Regions from separate parts of the Homo sapiens genome. Here regions 2 and 3 are each linked to region 1. The links are contacts of gene promoters, found by promoter capture Hi-C in blood cells and fetal thymus (Javierre and others, 2016). All regions are on one chromosome and are shown on one strand. Each heading gives the region's core, a stretch centred on a gene start or on the middle of the fragment in contact. The rest is flanking DNA. Distances are from core to core; before and after follow the strand shown. Region 1 holds the start of NUDT15 (nudix hydrolase 15). Region 2 holds the start of HTR2A (5-hydroxytryptamine receptor 2A). Region 3 holds the start of HTR2A-AS1 (HTR2A antisense RNA 1).

What was found. Contacts are between HindIII fragments. The CHiCAGO score rates a contact against its expected background, and 5 or more counts as called.
Region 2: the fragment with the promoter of HTR2A here is called in contact with the fragment with the promoter of NUDT15 in region 1 in 10 of 17 cell types (megakaryocytes, M1 macrophages, M0 macrophages and 7 more); the score reaches 18.8 in megakaryocytes.
Region 3: a contact is called between the fragment with the promoter of HTR2A-AS1 here and the fragment with the promoter of NUDT15 in region 1, in 8 of 17 cell types (M0 macrophages, M2 macrophages, megakaryocytes and 5 more). The highest score is 21.2, in M0 macrophages.

Annotation. Positions count from the first base shown.
Region 1 is chr13:48,036,004-48,039,347 of GRCh38, reverse strand. NUDT15 (nudix hydrolase 15) reads right to left here and starts at 1,622. Exons shown (of 3, transcript NM_018283.4): 1 at 1,444-1,622. The coding sequence starts at 1,601. LOC124903172 (a long non-coding RNA gene) reads left to right here and starts at 1,356. Exons shown (of 2, transcript XR_007063788.1): 1 at 1,356-1,742. RefSeq lists enhancers at 1,126-1,285, 1,336-1,575, 742-1,617, 1,618-2,494. The HindIII fragment of the contact is 6,950 bases long and covers 1-2,657 here.
Region 2 is chr13:46,895,710-46,899,226 of GRCh38, reverse strand. It overlaps HTR2A (5-hydroxytryptamine receptor 2A), which reads left to right and starts at 2,174. Exons shown (of 4, transcript NM_000621.5): 1 at 2,174-2,553; 2 at 2,993-3,517. The coding sequence starts at 3,321. The HindIII fragment of the contact is 5,377 bases long and covers 253-3,517 here.
Region 3 is chr13:46,850,268-46,853,782 of GRCh38, reverse strand. It overlaps HTR2A-AS1 (HTR2A antisense RNA 1), which reads right to left and starts at 1,643. Exons shown (of 2, transcript NR_103752.1): 1 at 1,557-1,643. All of the region lies in intron 3 of HTR2A (5-hydroxytryptamine receptor 2A), which reads left to right. The HindIII fragment of the contact is 4,589 bases long and covers 1,215-3,515 here.

The DNA of each region.
Region 1 (3,344 bases), core at 373-2,872:
CTCGGAGTTTCCAGATGCAGATGAATACAGAGGTAGAGCAAGGAAAAAGGGCAGCAGTGGAAATATCATTCCCATTGTGTGTTTCCTTTGGGCCAAGCAGATGCCACAAGAGACTGCTGGGTAATCAAATAGGAGATCCCAGTAGAAAGAAAATGTGGGGTGATGTGCTAAAAGCAAGAGCTAGGAGGTGGGCCAGCATCACAGAAAGCCCGTCACCTATGTCAGGAAAATCTCTGTGGGACTTCCCAACAACTGACAAACATACCCTGAGAAAGCACACATGTGGATATCATGCCCAGAGGACACCAATGGATGGATCAGAGCAGCATCAGTCACCTGAATGGCTTGCTCTCTCTCCTCCTCCAACACACTGGAGAAAGAAGGAAACTCAGAGACAGCCAGGTGAGAAGAGGAGGAGGATACAGAAAAGCAGAACAATGGCTCACACCTCCTTTATGCACTGCAGGGGAGGGATTAGAAACTGGAAGTGACACTGAAGGTTTAAATTGGATTGGACTTTTAAATGCTTGGAAGTGAATCATACTGACCCAAATGTGATTTATTTTTATAACCAAGTGACAAGAAAACTATAGAATTTGCAGGAAACGTCACTGAAGAGGGAAAGAAAAAATCATGTTTGAAGGCAGTGGAAGGAGAAAATAAAACCATTTCCTGTTTGTTCTCCCATCAAATTTAGCCCACTGAGTATGCCAGTTATGTAAAGATCAAATGAAAGTATACATGCAAAGAGCTTGGCATATTATCCAGCCTTTAACAAAAAGCCCATTAGAGCTCAATGTTGGCTATGGTCATTGACCTCACGGGTGGATCACCTGAGGTCAGGAGTTCGAGACCAGCCTGGCCAACATGGCGAAACCCCGTCTCTACTAAAAATACAAAAATTAGCACGGCGTGGTAGCGGGCGCCTGTAATCCCAGCTACCAGGAGGCTGAGACACAAAAATCGCTTGAACCCAGGAGGCGGAGGTTGCAGTGACTGGAGATAGCACCACTGCACTCTGGCCTGGGCTACAGAGCGAGACACAGTCTCAAATCAATCAATCGATCAATCAATCAATCACATGGAAACGGTGCAATGTCTTAGCTGACAATATCGGGCTGCTGGAGGTTTACACACACCTGCTTTCCTCCTTTTGTGTGTAAGCTGTGAGAAACACACCTCACAGACGAACTCCCAACCACCACCCAGCAGGGGCGCAGCCGGAAAGACCCAGCTAGCAAAGACCTCGCCTGACCCAGCACAGCGCCCCCTCCTGGGCGCGATCCTACGTCGCCCAGAAGTCGAGGGGAGGAACCGAGGGAACGCGCAAGAAAGGACGCAGCGTCAGCGCGGACGTTCTCACGCACGGCACACGGAAGCAAGCACGGCGTGAGTTCGTCCCTCTGCGCACGCCCCGGTTTCCTCGCGTCCGCGGCTGCTCACCCGAACTCCAGATGACCTCCAGGGAGTTGGAAACTGCCAGCTCCAACCGAGCCTTTCCTCTTCCCCAGGAGGACGCAACGCGGATGCTTGCAGCTGGTCACCACGACTCCGACTCCGACTCCTGGCCGCCGCCCGCGCGGCTGTGCGCTGGCCGTCATAGCGCGCGGGAGGACGCGCCTGGCAGCGGCAGGAAGTGACGCGCTCACTACCCCGTCCCGCGGCCGCAGCCAATCTCTCCCCGCGAGGGCGGAGGCGCCGAAATCAAAGCGAGAGCGCCTCGGCCTCTCCAGCTGTCCGCGGTGCGTAATGCGTCGCGGAGGGCTATCAGGTTGGGGAATGCCGTGTTTCCTTCCGAAGGGCAGCGTGCCTTAGAGTTTCGCTGTAACTAAAGTCGCTTACAGTTGTGCTTTGAATATTCATCACCCGTCAGCCTATCCACTCCCAGATTCCTGCAAACCATGCATTTACATGTACAAGCCGCCTGCTCTTACCAACCTCGGCACCACTGCACATTCTTTTTTCCGTGAATGACCTCGCCCACCATGGTGCACCCATTTGCCCTGTAGCTCAAATCAGCGTGGTACCAGGATAAGGATAGGTCGTTTAGAAACATCCCATTATAAACAACTATGCTTAAGGTATATTCATAAGTCATGGGAGGAAATAAAGGCTAATTGATAAATCATGCTGGGAAGAGTTAGTTACAAACAGTGGAAAACAGACATTTTCAGATGTTTGCACACCATGCACCATGCAAAATACAAACCAGCTGAATCATAAAAACAAATGACTAGTTACTGGGAGGGTTTTCTCTCTTTCTCATTATTTTTACTTCTACCAAAGTAATGTGCACATACTGGTAATTTTATTTTATTTTAATTTTCACCAAGCTAGCTAATTTTCTTTCTTTTTTTTTTTTTTGTGGAGGTGGGCTGTCGGTCTTTTGTCGAGGCTGATCTCCAACTCCTGTCCTCAAGCAGTCCTTCCACTTGGGCCTACCAGAGTGCTGGGATAACAGGCGTGAACCACTGCGCCTGACCTATAGCTATAATTTTAAGAAGTAAAATGGTGCAAAAACCGCAACAAGAGCAACCTGACCCTCCTACTTTCAGAAACAATCACTTTTAACTCTTTGAACTGTATTTCTGATATTTGCCTACTTATTTCTAAGTAATATGCTTACTCTCCATGTTATACTAAATGGGTATTAAGCTTTTCACAGCATCTCTCCTCACTATCAACATTCACATTCATTACAAAGGTACTTACAATATCTTCTCAAAAAATGGTAGTATATAAAAAGGATAATATATTGAACAATGAGATTAATCCCAGAAATACTAGGTTGGCTTAATATTTGAAAAGCCAATGTAATTCAGCATATTAACAGAGGGAGAAAGGAAATACATATAATCATCTCAATAGATGCAGAAAAAAATTAATAAAATCCGATACTCAGTTGTGATTAAAAAAACTCCACAAAATCTCTGAGCAAACTAGAAATAAAATGAAACTTTAACATGATATATGGCATCTACAAAGACCTACAGCTAACATCATATTTAATGACTGTTTTGAGCTGAATTGTGTCCCCTCAAAATTCCTATGTCGAAGTCCTATCCCCCAGTACCTCAGCATTTGGAGACAGGATCAAGTTAAAATGAAGCCACTAGGGTAGGCCCTATTCTAATGTTATGACTGGTGTCCTCGCAAGAAGTAGAGATTAGAACCCAGACTGTGTTCTATTGGAAGACTGTATGATGACACAGGGAGAAGGCAGCCGTCTACAAGCCAAGGAGAGCAGCCTCAGAAGAAACCAAGTCTGCTGACACCTTGATCTTAGAATTCTAGCCTCCAGTATTGTGAGAAAATTAATTTATGTTATTTAAGCCACACAATCT
Region 2 (3,517 bases), core at 925-3,424, 1.1 Mb after region 1:
TGTAATATAGATTACATCTATATTAAGGGTATGGAAATGAAGTTCAACATCTAATAGAGAAGACAGACATTTACACAGATGTCATGCATTCATTCAACAAACATACTTAAGCACTATGCGCCCAGCTGTTAACAAGATAGACACAGTTCCTGCCTTTATGAGGCTTACATGAGACATGATGTGTTAAAAATAGAAGGCTGCAGAAGGTGCTATAGTCTTTGCCTCCACTGGGAAGGAGGGCTACAGAAAGCTTAGGAACAGTAAACTTAGTAAGAATAATAGCAACTAACCTTTATTGAGTGCTTAAAATGTGCCAGGCAAATATGTAAATTTATTTGGCTTTCACGTCAATCCTGAGGTCTTTTTATTATTAATGTTCCCTACTTGCGGATGAGGAGACTAAAACACAGAGATTAGGTAGCTTAATCACGCTTACAGATGTGGTGAGTGGTAGGCCTGGGATCCAGAGCTGCTCTGGAACTAAGCACGAATTTGCCAGATGGACACACACAAAAAAGGAATGGTAAGAGCACTCCGGGCACAGGGAAGTACAAGTACAGAGACATAAAAATGGTCAGAAACATGTAAGTTCAGTCTGCATACAGGCTGACTGGGAGAGTAACCAGAGTCCAGGCCTGCAAAGTGGGGCAAGCAGGGTACAGGTAGATGAAGAAAAGTGTTATGTGCCCCACAAGGAAGGGACTGCAGGAGTGTAGGCATGGGAGTGATGCCAATTGTGTCATTAATATCAGTAAGAATATCAATAGGAATGAAAGTGGCTGACATTACTTGAGAACCTCCTATAAGCCAGACATGGGCCAAATACTTACACACATTATCTCAGTTTAGCTTCACTACAATCTTATGAGGAAGGTATTATCCCATTTTACAAGTGAGAAGACTGAGCTTTAAAGGGAGCAACTAGATGAGGCGAGGTTCTACTGTTTATGAGTGATAGAGCTAGGATCCAAAACCAAGGAACTCTAAGGTCTGTGTTCTCCGCTGCCTGCTCGCCAGCGTGCATATTTAACGTGGAGGGGTAGGAGGGTGGCAGGCATGGCAGTGAGGGGGGCACTAAGGCACCCACCCAGGAAATAGGTGGCTAGATCTCGACCACAGGGTGCCAGCTGCAGGCTGCAGGAGAGGACATGTGAGAAACACGCATACAGAGGTAGCACCGGAGACGAAGTGGGATCTGGCAGCGAGAATGAAGGAAGAGTCGCGGATAACAGCAGCTGTCTGAAGAGGTGGTGATTCCATCATGCAAGCCAATGGGTAGGAACAAGCACTGAGAGCCGGGCAGGGGGATGCGGAGTGAGGGAAGATGCTGAGGTCAAGGTCTCCCAGGCTACCATGGAAGGAGCCAATGGGCAGCTAGAGATTTAGGTCTGGAACTGAGAGAAATAATCAGCTATGAAGGTACAGACTTGGCCACAAACATATTGAAGGCATGAGAGTGGTTGAATTTGTCCAGGGAGAATGTGAAGAACAGAAGGTGATAGAACTGTAGCAAAACCCAACTATTGAGGAAAATATTTTCATGCCTGCAAAAAGAGAGAGATCGAACTGCCTCCTTTAGAAACCTACTTGGGAAAGGGCTTTCTTTACAAGTAAGGCAAGTTGTCATTACTGGTGGGGGAAAAAAATTGGTACTGCGAAACCAACTTATTTCCTACCACATGTGAGGTTTTGAATAATATCTGGGTGGCATATTTCTGCTGAAGAAAATAAGCCAGTTCAATGGTGTATCTATTAAATAAAAATAGTGCTAATAGTTTATCAGAGTTATCACCACAGACGTGCCTAGCCACCCTGAGCCTATGTGGCCAATGTCAGTAATTCCACTCTGGACACAAACACTGTTGGCTTTGGATGGAAGTGCCGGACACTCACAGCACTCCGAGGACATACTGTTTTCTAGCCTTATTTATGTTCTCTCTTCACCCTTCAGCCTAAAAAATTACCACAGTGCCACTTACCTACCTTAATGGGAATCTGCACAAAAGGCCATTTCTCCAGTTTCTCTCAAAAGCAAAGGAAAACTTCCCAATATTAATATGTAGCAAAAAGAGGGAGAAGAAAAAGCCTGTTTGGTCCGCCCTCCTGGCTGTTGCTACCTTGCAGCTTATGACATACACATAGAGGGAGGTCTGATGAAATGAACGAGACAGTCAGAGAGCTACTCCATTCCCGTGGAAACCAGGAGTCCCTTGGTGCAGACAGCTCTTCCTACTTTCCCATGCAGTTCTTTTGTGCGACTTTGAGGGGCTCGTGAATGATTTCTAAATGTGTGCCTGCTGAGGCGAGCCGCACAGGGAGGGAGGAACCCAGCCGAGCCGTGCCAGAGGAAGCCAACAGGATCCTAGCAGTGCGGGAGCTGGCTCAGCTCTTGCATGCAGTTTTTGAAGTCAGCAAAACAGAAACCAAATTACTATCATATTATGCTGGTGGAAGATCAAGAAGAGGGGACTCTACACCAGTTTAATTACTGTGAGAGATGCAGCGAGTCACAGAATAACAAATGTATCTCATGTGTGGACCCTGAAGACAAATGTAAGTTCTCATGCCGCTATATTTTATTGCTGTGTAATTTTCTTTCCGGTTTGAAATCATGCTTGGCCAACATGTAATCATTTCAATGAGAATTTCCAGGGAGGAAAGTTGTCTGCTAATCTTTACTTAAGACTTTTTTGTTTTCCTTTTATTAGCTAAGCAACATTATAGGAGCTGAAATTCCTGACAGCAGCTGTGGCAATTCAGCTTAAGAATGGCTGAGAACTGTAACCCAAAGTACATCCAATTACTATGGGATTAACACTGGATGTATTTTTAATTGACTTTCTTAATGTAGAATGTGTACATCCCCACTGTTTCTGATTGCATGCTATTTTAATAATACTGTTGCTAAACTAGTACCATCGGCATAACCAACAAAATGAGATATAGTTAAACAAGAGTCCCAGTAGTTATAAAACTTTTCTTCTTTGTCCAGGACATTTATCTTCCCGAGCGCTCAAAAAAAACCCTGCAACCTCTATGCTAAAAGTTCATTCTGCTTTTTTGTCCTCGGTTTGGTGAGAAAATAATAAAACCAAACAGTGGACTCTCCTAAAATTGTGAATGAAGAAAACTTACAGCCACCACAGTTCAGTTCTTTAACTATCATTGTAATAATGGAAGACAAAAATCCAGCCCCGGGAGAACAGCATGTACACCAGCCTCAGTGTTACAGAGTGTGGGTACATCAAGGTGAATGGTGAGCAGAAACTATAACCTGTTAGTCCTTCTACACCTCATCTGCTACAAGTTCTGGCTTAGACATGGATATTCTTTGTGAAGAAAATACTTCTTTGAGCTCAACTACGAACTCCCTAATGCAATTAAATGATGACACCAGGCTCTACAGTAATGACTTTAACTCCGGAGAAGCTAACACTTCTGATGCATTTAACTGGACAGTCGACTCTGAAAATCGAACCAACCTTTCCTGTGAAGGGTGCCTCTCACCGTCGTGTCT
Region 3 (3,515 bases), core at 394-2,893, 1.2 Mb after region 1:
TAGATGGAGGAGAGCTGAGAGTGACAGCTGAGAGTCGTAGATGCTGCCTTGGAAGAGTGTCCACGCTACCCTGGACAGGGGCCTGCCTGCCCACCCAGTGACCATGGCAGGGCAGAGAAAAAGCAATGTCAGCCCAGTATCTTCTCCAGCCAGTGGGGTGGCTTCAGGAGAGGGCTGGGACTGGGGATCTCAACCTTAGCAGCACATTAGAATCATCTGGGGAGGTTTAAAACAGCCTGATACACTTGGCCTCACCTGGAATGCACAAAATCAGAATCTCTATGGATTCAATTCACTATCAGTATTTAAGGCTGCCAGGTGATTCCAGTGTGCTGCCAACAACCACTGAGAGCACACAGCAAGGGAAGAGAGCAACCTGCTGGCTTCTGAGCTCTTTCTCCTCCCAGCCCAAGGGTTAGGGGATTGGGAGTCAGAGAAGTGGCCCAGGCAGATGAGTATGGAGGTGTCCAGCAAGATGTGGACAGATGGAGGATCTGGGAGCCCACATTTCAATGCTAGAGGCCATCTGCCCTAAGGTCCACCTTCCCCTTCTTCCTAATCAAGATCACCAGGAGGCGCACAGGCTGTAACCCCTTCTCCTGGTGTACGATATTAATCACGGCATCTTATATCCCCTGAAGGGGATATAAAGTCACAAGAAAAAATTTCTAGGCATATGAGAAGCACAAACTCTATAAGATACTGACAACAAGCAGACCAACTTTTACCTAACAATTCAGAATAATGCACTATATTAAGGAGAAAAAGAAAAATCAGATAAGAATTACCAGGAACTTTATAGGAAAAAAAAAAGCCCTAGAACTATTATAGGACAGACAAGACCTAAGTAGATAAAAATATAACATGTTCAAATTATTGAGATAACTTACCTTTGTTAACTGTAGAACTAAGGTGTTCATTTTCCACCAGATTATCTACAGTTTCAACAGTTTTAATCCAAAAGTTAAAATTTTTTGAGGAGCATGACTAAGTGATTTTAAAATGTTTATGGGAAAACAAAAGTTCATTACACCCATAGCTTGTATGTGGACAGGCCAAGGAAAGAAATCAGGGCTTCTGTCTCCCAGTCTGGTGCTAATTTCACCCCACCTGTCTACAGCCGTGAACTGCATTTTAACAGCACATAAAGAAATATACTGCATGCAATGCCGCTCCTCATATCATAGAACAATTATCTTAATCATAGGAAAGCTTAGAAGTTAACACATCAGTCTGAATGGCATCATAGCTCATCGTTTGTCCCTTTGACAAAGAACTTTTGTAGCGAATGCCACTCCAAACACACAGGGGCTAAGGCAAGGCTGTTACCGCAGTGGGAAGAGGGTAGCACTCTGTGTAAGCAGACGTGGCCAGCCCAGCCGAGAGAGCCCCCCTTTGCTGACTACCTCCAAGAACGTGGACACCTACAGTGCCGCCCAAGCGCCAGAGCGAGTCCCGGCAATGTGTGCCAGCTCCTTAGTGCTGCTGTAGCAATGACTACAAACTGAAATGACACCTCTGCTGTTGGCTTAAAACAACACAAATTTATTACTTACAGTTTTGGAAGTGAAAAGTCCAAAGTTGGTCTCACCAGGCCAAAACCAAGGTGTCAGTAGGGCTGCGTTCTTTCTGGAGGCACTAGGGAAAAAATATGTCACTGGCCCCTCCAGCTTCTAGAAACCACCTACACTCCTTGGCCCACGGTCCTTTTCCTGTTATCTTCCAAGGTAGCCAGTACAGATTGAATCCTGCTCTTATTGAATCACTTTGACCCAACACACCTTCCTCCCTCTTCCACTTTTAAGGAAATCTGTGATTACATTGGGCCCACCTGGATAATCCAGGGCACTCTAATTATTTCCAGCTCAGCTGATTGACATCTTTAATTCCCATCTGCAACTTTAGTTTATCCTTGCCATATAACACAACATATTCACAGCATCCAGGAGTTAGGCGTAGGCATCTTTGGGGACCATTATTCTGCTGATTACAAAATGCATCAGATTCAAACATTTAGCAGGCTAGAGCTAACACCTTCCTTATTACTATCACAAAATGTAGAAAAGCGGTGAATATATCATCGGGAAGTTTGCAGCTTATTTGGCTGGATCCACAACTGCCTTTCATGCCCAGAATGTTGCTAAAAGGAGAGTCTCTCTCCCAGTTACTCTACATCCATCCTGCCCTTGTAAAGCCACCTGGAAAACTGAAGCAATTTTTCAGAAATCCCTGTTTCCATTATATAAATATTCCGTGCGAAAGTGTTCTTTTGGTCTGACTTATTCTAATAAATGCTCCCATTTAACATGCATATGTGTAATCCAGCAAATTAACTTCTCCACAGGATATTAAAGTTAGTGTGTTTTGTGCTGTATGTATCTGTGCATGTACTATGTTTGAACCAGAATATACAATGTATCAAGGAGCTCATTCTTTATCTTTTTCCTGCATTTTCTTATAAACTATTTGGCTGATTAGATTTTTACTGTGACTTTTGTTTCTTATGTCTTTTAAAATTAGAAATTACTGCCATATTCTCTAGAAAAGTACTATCCAGAAGAAATAGAACTATGAAGATATGAAACTGGTTTTACTAGGAAACACACATATACACAGACACATACACACAAGACATAGTGTTTGTACACCCAGGCTCAGTGATTCAGAATCTTTTTTGTGTTGCAGAGTATTGGGATAATTACCTCTTTCCTGAAAAATGTACGTAGTCACATGAACATGAACTTTTGCACTCCTTTTCAAAGGGTTTCTGCCCCATCCTCACCCCCACCCCAGAAATCATCTATAGGTTAATTTGGAGGAAAAACATTCAACATCAGCACAGGTACGGGACACCAATTAGCTGGGAACCATGGAAAGAAAATAAGCATTGTAAGAAATAGCAGAGAAAATTGTAATTTCAAAAAATGTTGATCTTGGCATTGTGCATTAAAGACTTGCAGTAAAACATAACTGGTCCTTAGCATTAAGTTCTTAAAAGATGGTTTCTATAGCCAGTCTTCCCATAGATAGCATGTAAATGGCTCTAAATGAGAAACGTATAGCCCCTGCAACACAAGCACAGATAAAAGGAGGCCTGTCCCCACAGAAAGATTTCATAGGTAGGACACTGCATGAATTCCAGGCTCCGGATCTAAGAGCCAGCCTTGAGCAGCAATGAAGCAGCAACTCTTCAAGCAGCAACTTTTCTGAAGTGAGGAAGTTTGATCCCCAAGCCTGCATACCTGATGGCGAAAGTGTGCTGAGGCTACAGAGCATAGAAAAATACAGACTACAGAGCCAGGCTGTGGCTCAAAATTCTAGTTTCAGCACTTACTGTGTGACATTTGGCAACTTGCCTAACTTCTCTGTGCTTCCACTTTCTCATCAGCAAACAGTGATAATAATAGCACAAACTCATAGGGTGACTGTGAGGAGTAAGTGAGCTCATCTGTATAAAGCACTTAGGATAGTGCCTGGAGCACAGTAAGCACCATGTAAGTATTTGATTGTGTTAT